Regions from separate parts of the Homo sapiens genome. Here regions 1 and 3 are each linked to region 2. The links are contacts of gene promoters, found by promoter capture Hi-C in human tissues and cell types (Jung and others, 2019). All regions are on one chromosome and are shown on one strand. Each heading gives the region's core, a stretch centred on a gene start or on the middle of the fragment in contact. The rest is flanking DNA. Distances are from core to core; before and after follow the strand shown.

Evidence for each region. The method cuts DNA at HindIII sites, captures the fragments that hold promoters and counts their contacts. A contact is called where the count stands out against the background at its distance.
Region 1: a contact is called between a fragment that was not itself captured here and the fragment with the promoter of LCAT in region 2, in 1 of the 25 tissues and cell types used here (dorsolateral prefrontal cortex).
Region 3: a contact is called between a fragment that was not itself captured here and the fragment with the promoter of LCAT in region 2, in 1 of the 25 tissues and cell types used here (spleen).

The regions. Positions count from the first base shown.
Region 1 is chr16:68,118,716-68,121,542 of GRCh38, reverse strand. The region is part of intron 1 of NFATC3 (nuclear factor of activated T cells 3); the gene reads right to left. Among named protein-coding and RNA genes, the nearest start is that of NFATC3, 35 kb to the right of the region's middle. RefSeq lists a silencer at 2,342-2,471. The HindIII fragment of the contact is 9,616 bases long and covers 1-2,827 here.
Region 2 is chr16:67,942,870-67,945,595 of GRCh38, reverse strand. LCAT (lecithin-cholesterol acyltransferase) reads left to right here and starts at 1,476. Exons shown (of 6, transcript NM_000229.2): 1 at 1,476-1,648; 2 at 2,384-2,540; 3 at 2,620-2,726. The coding sequence starts at 1,495. SLC12A4 (solute carrier family 12 member 4) reads left to right here. Exons shown (of 24, transcript NM_005072.5): 22 at 43-227; 23 at 376-509; 24 at 665-2,122. The coding sequence ends at 756. RefSeq lists an enhancer at 2,345-2,726. The HindIII fragment of the contact is 35,269 bases long and covers 1-2,726 here.
Region 3 is chr16:68,100,533-68,103,586 of GRCh38, reverse strand. All of the region lies in intron 1 of NFATC3 (nuclear factor of activated T cells 3), which reads right to left. Among named protein-coding and RNA genes, the nearest start is that of NFATC3, 17 kb to the right of the region's middle. The HindIII fragment of the contact is 6,699 bases long and covers 1-3,054 here.

The DNA.
Region 1 (2,827 bases), core at 174-2,673, 180 kb before region 2:
CATGCCACACTCCTGGTTACTTTTTATTGTCATTTTTGGTAGACACAGGGCCTTGCTTTGTTGCCAAGGCTGGGCTCAAGCTATCCTCCCACCTTAGCCTCCCAAAGTGCTGGGATTACAGGTGTGAGGGAGCGTCTGTGCCCAGCTCAATAAATGTGTTTATTAAAAAAAAAAAAACACATCCATAATTCTAAAAAATACTCATAGCATACAGGCTGCAGTGAGCTCAGATCACGCCACTGTACTCCAGCCTGGGTGACACAGCAAGACTCCGTCTCAAAAAAAAAAAAAAAAAAAAAAGAAAAGAAAAGAAATGAGATATTCCTAGGCTGCAAAGAACAGAAAATCCAACTCAATGTAGCTGAAAAAGGGGGAGGGGACACAGGCTGAATATCCCTTATCCAAAATGCTTGAGGCCAGAAGTGCTTGGGATTTTGGATTTTTTTTTTTTGGCCCATTTACAAATACACAATGAGATATCTTGATATGGGACCCAAGTCTAAACATGAAATACACTTATGTTTCATATATACCTTATTCACATAGCCTGAAAGGTAATTTTGGACAATATTTTTTAATAATTCGGTGAATGAAAAAAAGTCTGTGTTAAGAATTCTCCACTTGTGGCATCATGTCAGAGCTAAAAAGTATAGGATATTGGAACATTCCAGATTTTGAATATGACCTGTATATATTATCCAACATAACAACCTGCATTATCAACCTGTATATATTATCCAACATAACAAGTAGTCAAAGGTAGGAGAGTTCCAAAAGTGGGTTTTTCTTTGTTTGTTTGTTTGTTTGTTTGAGATGGAGTCTTGCTCTGTCGCCCAGGCTGGAGTGCTGTGGCGCAATCTTGCCTCCTGGATTCAAGCAATTCTCCTGCCTCCTGTCTCAGTCTCCTGAGTAGCTGGGACTACAGGCACTCGCCACCATGCCTAGCTAATTTTTTTTTTTTTTTTTTTTTCTGAGACAGAGTCTCTCTCTGGCTTGAATGCAGTGGTGCGATCTTGGCTCACTGCAACCTCTGCCTCCGAAGTTCAGGCGATTCTCAAGCCTCAGCCTCCCAAGTAGCTGGAATTACAGGTGCCTGCCATGACACTCGGCTAATTTTTGTTATTTTTAGTAGAGACAGGGTTTTGCCATGTTGTCCAGGCTGGTCTCAAACTCCTGACCCCAAGCAATCTACCCTCCTTGGCCTCCCAAAGTGCCAGGATTACAAGCATGAGCCACCACACCCGGACTTTTTTTTTTTTTTTTGAGACTAGGTCTCGCTCTGTCACCCAGGCTGGAGTGCAGTGGTGCACTCATAGCTCACTGCTGCCTCAAACTTCTGGGTCAAGTGATCCTCCCACCTCAACCTTTCAAGTAGCCGAGACCACAGGTGCATGCCACCACTCCCAGCAATTTTTTTTTTTTTTTTTTGTAGAGACAGGGTCTCGTTTTGTTGCCCAGCCTAATCTTGAACTCCTGGGCTCAGGCAATCCAACTGCCCCAGCCTCCCAAAGTGCTGGGATTACAGTTCAACAATGTTCTTCAGAAATGTTTCTTTATTTCACTTTGCCATTTTTGGGGAGCTAACTTTGTGCTGTTCATTTTTCAACCACATATACCTATTCTGTCTACACTGGAAACAACATGATTCAACTTATTCATTTAACAAAAAAATTTTTTAGCAACTACTATGTAAGCAGGCATGTTCTGAATACTAAAAACACCATGGTAAACAAAACAAAATCCCCTCCTCATGGAGCTTACATTCTAGTAAAATATGTCAGGTAGTGATATTTGCTGTAAGAGAAAATAAAACGGGAAAAAATATAGAGGAGGCAAAGATGTTAATTTAATAGGAAAGTCTGGAAAGCCTTCTCTAATACTTGAGGAAATAGCAGAAGAATATTAATGTAACTGAGCTATACAGAAATTTAGGGGCATAATGCAGGCAGAGGATAATAGTAAGTGCAAAGACCTGAGGTACAGCATTGTTGAAGTGTACTGTATGAGAAAAAACAAGGCCAGTGGGACTTGAACTGAGTAAGGAGGCAGAATAATGAGAGCTACGGGTGGTCAGGGAGAGGCTAGTCAAGTAAGGCCTTACGAGATGGGAAACCACTGGAGCATTCTAAACAGAAAAGTATCATCATTTGATATATATGAACTGATATAAATTTAGGAGGCTACTGTAATCATCCAGGTGAGAAAAGATGGAATACAGGACCTAAGTGGTAGTGAGCTGTAAAAGCAGAAGCAGCATTAAGAAGTCAGATTTTGGATTAAAGTAGTGCTGACGGAACTTGTTGACTGGATGTGAAAGAACAGTCAAGGGTGACACCAAGGTTTAAAGCCTTGAACTATTATTAAAAACACAGTATTGGTCGGGCGCAGTGGCTCACACCTTTAATCCCAGCACTTTGAGAGGCCGAGGCGGGTGGATCACGAGATCAGGAGATCACGACCATGCTGGCTAACACGGTGAAACCCCATCTCTACTGAAAATACAAAAAATTAGCCGGGCGTGGTGGCAGGCGCCTGTGGTCCCAGCTGCTCGGGAGGCTGAGGTGGGAGAATGGCGTGAACCCAGGAGGCAGAGCTTGCAGTGAGCCAAGATCGCGCCATTGCACTCCAGCCTGGGCAACAGAGCGAGGCTGTCTCAAAAAACAACAACAACAATACAGTATTTCTGAAATTTTCTGAATTTCTGAAAGAACAGCAATTACTGAAATAAAGAAAGTGAGACAGACTTGAGATAAGAAACCAAAACTTCTACTTTGTACATATTAAATATGAGAGTCCAGTAAGCTTTCCAAGTGGAAATGTCAAATAG
Region 2 (2,726 bases), core at 227-2,726:
TTTTCCTATGGGACCAAGGCTATCTCCTGCAATTGTCCTCAGGCCCAGCTGGTCAAGGATCGGCACTCGGCCCTGCGGCTGGAGAGCCTGTACTCGGACGAGGAAGATGAGTCTGCAGTGGGGGCTGACAAGATCCAGATGACGTGGACCAGGGACAAGTACATGACTGAGACCTGGGACCCCAGCCATGCCCCTGACAATTTCCGGGAGCTGGTGCACATTAAGCCGTGAGTGCAGCAAAAACAGCCCCAGCGGCACTGGAATCTAGGGGTGGAGGTGGGGTGGGGCAGACAAGTAGTGTTAGATGGGCCAGGGGTGGGGACCCTCCTTGCAGGATGGCTCATGGCGACCTGTGACTGGCTACACTACGTGTAGGGACCAATCCAATGTGCGGCGCATGCACACTGCTGTGAAGCTCAATGAAGTCATTGTCACGCGCTCCCACGACGCCCGCCTGGTTCTCCTAAACATGCCTGGCCCACCCAGGAACAGTGAGGGCGACGAGAACTGTATCCCTTTGTGGAGAGGCAGGCAGTTGGGAGGTGGATAGCATGGGAGGTCAAGCCAGCGGCTTCTCTCCTGGGCACCCCTGGGTGGGCATGGCCCAGGTGGCCCGGGTTGCCCGTTGATTCTGTTGTTGCCTCCTTGACTTGAGGCCCTGCAGACATGGAGTTCCTCGAGGTGCTGACCGAGGGCCTTGAGCGGGTGCTGTTGGTGCGCGGTGGTGGCCGTGAAGTCATCACCATCTACTCCTGAGCCCAGTGTCATCTTGTGGCCTGGAGTCGAGGTCTTGGCCAGGACATAACAAGCTGTGGTCTGGGGTAACAGCCTCTTCCCAGCACCCACCTGCCAGCCCTGCTTGCCTGGCCCTGTCCTGGACCCAGCTTTGCTAGGTCTCCTTGGAAACCAGGCCTGGGCCTCAAAATGGAGATGGATCCCAGGTCTTGTGGGACCCTGGGATGTTTGGGGACTTTACTATCTAGCACCCCAGTAGGCCTGTCCTGGCCAGAGAAGACTGGTAGGGGCCGAGTGGGGTTTGAAGGCAGCCGGCCCGGCCCAGCCCAGGAGCGCTATTTATTGCATATTTATTGTTTGGATGTCACCATCAGAGACGAAGGGAAGGGTAGCCAGGGAGGGAGTCCAGCCCAGCTGCCTGCAGGAAGATCTGGCTCAGTCTACTATGGGCAGGGCCCCCCACCAAGCTGAGCCGAATGGAGACAGCTGAGCTGAGGCCTGACTTTTTCAATAAAACATTGTGTAGTTCTGGGCCTCCTGCTGCCCCGGCTCTGTTTCCCCTGGCGCCAAGAGAAGAAGGCGGAACTGAACCCAGGCCCAGAGCCGGCTCCCTGAGGCTGTGCCCCTTTCCGGCAATCTCTGGCCACAACCCCCACTGGCCAGGCCGTCCCTCCCACTGGCCCTAGGGCCCCTCCCACTCCCACACCAGATAAGGACAGCCCAGTGCCGCTTTCTCTGGCAGTAGGCACCAGGGCTGGAATGGGGCCGCCCGGCTCCCCATGGCAGTGGGTGACGCTGCTGCTGGGGCTGCTGCTCCCTCCTGCCGCCCCCTTCTGGCTCCTCAATGTGCTCTTCCCCCCGCACACCACGCCCAAGGCTGAGCTCAGTAACCACACACGGCCCGTCATCCTCGGTAAGCCCCCACCAGGCCCCTGATGCACCACGCCAGACCCTGGGGAGCCTGGGCCCCAGCCCCTGGCAGCTGACCTGGCCAAAGCCCTTCTGCCCTGCATAAGCCCCGACATAAGTACCTGCCCTGGTGTGGGGAGGGGCCAAAAGCTTGTCCCTTAGAGGAATGACGTCCCTTCTCCCACCACACTGTGACTCTCAGTTGTCTAACCCAGGGGGGGCGGAGTGGGGGACGGGGTGTGCCTGAGGTCTTGGCTGGGGCATCACAAGCTGTGGTCAGTCACAGCCACACCAGACTCTGGGCCAAGCCCCACCACTCCTTCCTTGGCCCCCACCCACCAAGGACAAGATGCCCAGCCCAGGATCGGTGAGCAGGAGAGGCCCATCCATGCCCGGCCCCTATTAGGCCCAGCCCCCATGCCCCCAGACCTATCTGTTCCCACCTTGGACTTTGGCAATAAAGGAGCGCCAGACTGGGTGTTTGCTCTGCAGAGGCAGGGGTCAGCGGCCTTGGCCTCAGCACCTCAGCGCCTTCCCTTCCTCAGGGAAGCCTGGGCTTTGGCTACTGGGGGGACAGCAGGGAGAGGGGGTGTAAGCAGGGGAGGGTAAGTGTGCTTTGTACCTGGGGGTTGAGGGTATGGGAGGTGGGGGGTGGGTCTGGTCACTGCAGCATCTGGGGTGACGGGGGTAAGGGTCACGGGGGGAATCCAGAGTCCAGAGTGAGGGCTGCTGCTCACAGTGCCCGGCTGCCTGGGGAATCAGCTAGAAGCCAAGCTGGACAAACCAGATGTGGTGAACTGGATGTGCTACCGCAAGACAGAGGACTTCTTCACCATCTGGCTGGATCTCAACATGTTCCTACCCCTTGGGGTAGACTGCTGGATCGATAACACCAGGTACAGCCATGTGCTCCACCCTAGCCCCAACACGCTGCCCCTTGGCTACTGGCTGCTGAGTGGCACCCCCGCCCCGCAGGGTTGTCTACAACCGGAGCTCTGGGCTCGTGTCCAACGCCCCTGGTGTCCAGATCCGCGTCCCTGGCTTTGGCAAGACCTACTCTGTGGAGTACCTGGACAGCAGCA
Region 3 (3,054 bases), core at 127-2,626, 160 kb before region 2:
CAACAAAAGAACTCAATTAATACAACTTGGTAAAATTAAAAACTTTTGTGCACCAAAGGGCACCATCAAGAAAGTGAGGCCAAGCCCAGTGGCTCATGCCTGTAATCCCAACCCTTTGGGAGGCTGAGGCAGGCAGATGACTTGAGCCCAGGAATTTGAGACCAACCTGGGCAACGTGGTGAAATCTCATCTCCACAAAATAATACAAAACTTAGCTGGGCATGGTGGCATGCACCTGTAGTCCCAGCTACTTGGAAGGCTGAGGTGGGAAGCTAACTTGAGCCAAGGAGGTCAAGGCTGCCTGCCATGAGCCAACATCACACACCATGGCATTCCAGCCTGGGCAACAGAGTGAGACCTTGTCTCAGAAGAAAATAATAATAATAATAATAAAATAAAAAAAAAAGAAGAAAAAAGAAAAGTGAAAAGACAACCTACAGAATGGGAAAAAATATCTGTAAATCTTAGATCTGATAAGGCTTTAGTATCCAGAATATATAGAGTTTTTATAACTGAACAGCAAAAAGTCAAACAGCTGAATTAAAAAATGGACAAAGCACATGAATAGGCATTTCTCCAAAGAAGATATACAAATGACCAACATGCACATGAAAAGATGTTCAACATCACTGGTCATTAGGTAATGCAAATAAAAACCACAGAGAGATACCATTTCACACTCCCAGGATGGCTTTAATTTGAAAAAATAAACAAAAAGAGAAAACAAGTGTTAGTGTGGATACAGATAAATAAGAACCCTCATATATTACTAGTGGCAATGTAAAGTGATACAGCTGAGTTGCTGTAGAAAAGAGTTTGATGGTGCCTCAAAAATTTACATAGAGAATTACCATATGACAAGCAATTACATTTGTAGGTAGTCAGGTACTGCTTGATGATGTTTTGGTCAATGACAGACCACGTATGTGAAAATGGTCTCCTGAGATTACAATGGAACTGAAAAAATCAGAACACAAAGGACAAAGAGAAGAACCTAAAAGACTCAGAGGAGGGTAACAGGTTACACATGAAGAATCAAGAATCAGAATGGCATCAGACTTTTCAACAACAATGGAATAAAATGGAGAAAATGGAGAGCAATGCCTTCAAATTTATGAGAGAAAATGATATCTAACTTAGAATTCTACAACCAGCCAAAATTAAGTGTGAGGGGAGAATGAAGACTTTTTTTTTTTTTTTTTTTTTTTTTTTCCTGAGATGGAGTCTCACACTGTCACCAGGGCTGGAGTGCAGTAGTGCAATCTCGGCTCACTGCAACCTCTGCCTCCTGGGTTCAAGCGATTCTCCTGCCACAGTCTCCCAAGTAGCTGGGATTACAGCCACGCACCACCACACCCAGCTAATTTTTTTGTATTTTTAGTAGAGACGGGGTTTCACCATGTTGGCCAGGCTAGTCTCTAACTCCTAAGCTTGTGATTCACCTGCCTCAGCCTCCCAAAGTGCTGGGATTACAGGCGTGAGCCACTGCGCCTGGTGAAGACCTTTAAATATATAAGGTCACAAAAATTTACCTCCTATTACCATCAGTAAGCTACTGAAGGAAGTACTCCACCAAAATGAGTTGCAAAGAAACAAATGACAACACAATAACAGAAATGCAAAGAACTCAAGATGACAGAGAAGTGAGGTCTCACAATGACAGATGTACAACATGCTAGGTATCCACTAATCCAGATTAGTTTAGAAGGCTCTGAGAGAAAGGAAAGTCTCCAAGAAAATAAAATTGACAGACGAATTGATGTGTCAAAAATGCTGAGACTCAGGCACCTAAAAGATACTTTGGGACCGGGTGCGGTGGGTCATGCCTGTAATCCCAGCACTTTGGGAGGCAGAGGCGGGCGGATCATGAGGTCAGGGGATCAAGACCATCCTGGATAATATGGTGAAACCCCATCTCTATCAAAAATACAAAAAATTAGCCAGGCGTGGTGGCAGGCGCCTGTAGTCCCAGCTACTTGGGAGGCTGAGACAAGAGAATGGCGTGAACCCGGGAGGCGGAGCTTGCAGTGAGCCGAGATCGCGCCACTGCACTCCAGCCTGGGCAACAGAGCGAGACTCCGTCTCAAAAAAAAAAACAAAAAAAAAAACCTAAAACTATAAAACTTCCAAAAGAAAACCTAGCAGCCAGGCACAGTAGCTCACTCCTGTAATCCCAACACTTTGGGAGGCCAAGGAGGAAGGATCACTTGAGCCCTACAGTTTGAGACAAGCCTGGCCAATGCAGTGAAACCATATCTCTACGAAAAATTTAAAAATTGGCGGGGCATGGTGGTGCACACCTGTGGTTCCAGCTATTACAGAGGCTCAGGCAGGAGGAATAGCTTGAGCCCAGGAGGTTGATGCTGCAGCGAGCCATAATCATGCCACTGCACTCCATCCTGGGCAACACGAGCAAGACTGTGTCTCAAAAAAAAGAAAAGAAAAGAAAACCGAGGAGAAAATCTTTGTGAGCATGGGTTAGGCAAAGATTTCTTAGCTGTAACACCAAAAGTGCAATCCATGAAAGAAAAAATTGGTAAGGCAAACTTCATCAAAATGTAAAACTTCTACAAAAGATACTATTAATAGAATTAAAAAACAAATCACAGATTGAGAGAAACTCTCTGCAAAGCATATATTTGATAGACTTGTTTCACACACACACACACACACACACACCCCACACACACACACACACAGAACTCTCAAAATTCAACAATAAGAAAACAACCCAATCTAAAAAGGGGCAAAGACTTAGACACTAGACCAAAAATAATATACGGATGGCAAAAATCACATAAAACAATGGTCAACAGTATTAGTCATGAGAAGAATATAATTAAAACCACAATGAGGTATCACTACACACCCATCAGAATGATTAAAAAAAAAAGGTGTTAATACCAAATGCTGCCCAAGATGCAGAGAAACTGAGTAACTCATACACCTGCTGGTGGGAATGAAAACATTTGGCAGGTTTGGTTTTTTTTTTTGTTTGTTTTGTTTTGTTTTTGAAACAGAGCCTTGCTCTGTTGCTCAGGCTGGAGTACAGCG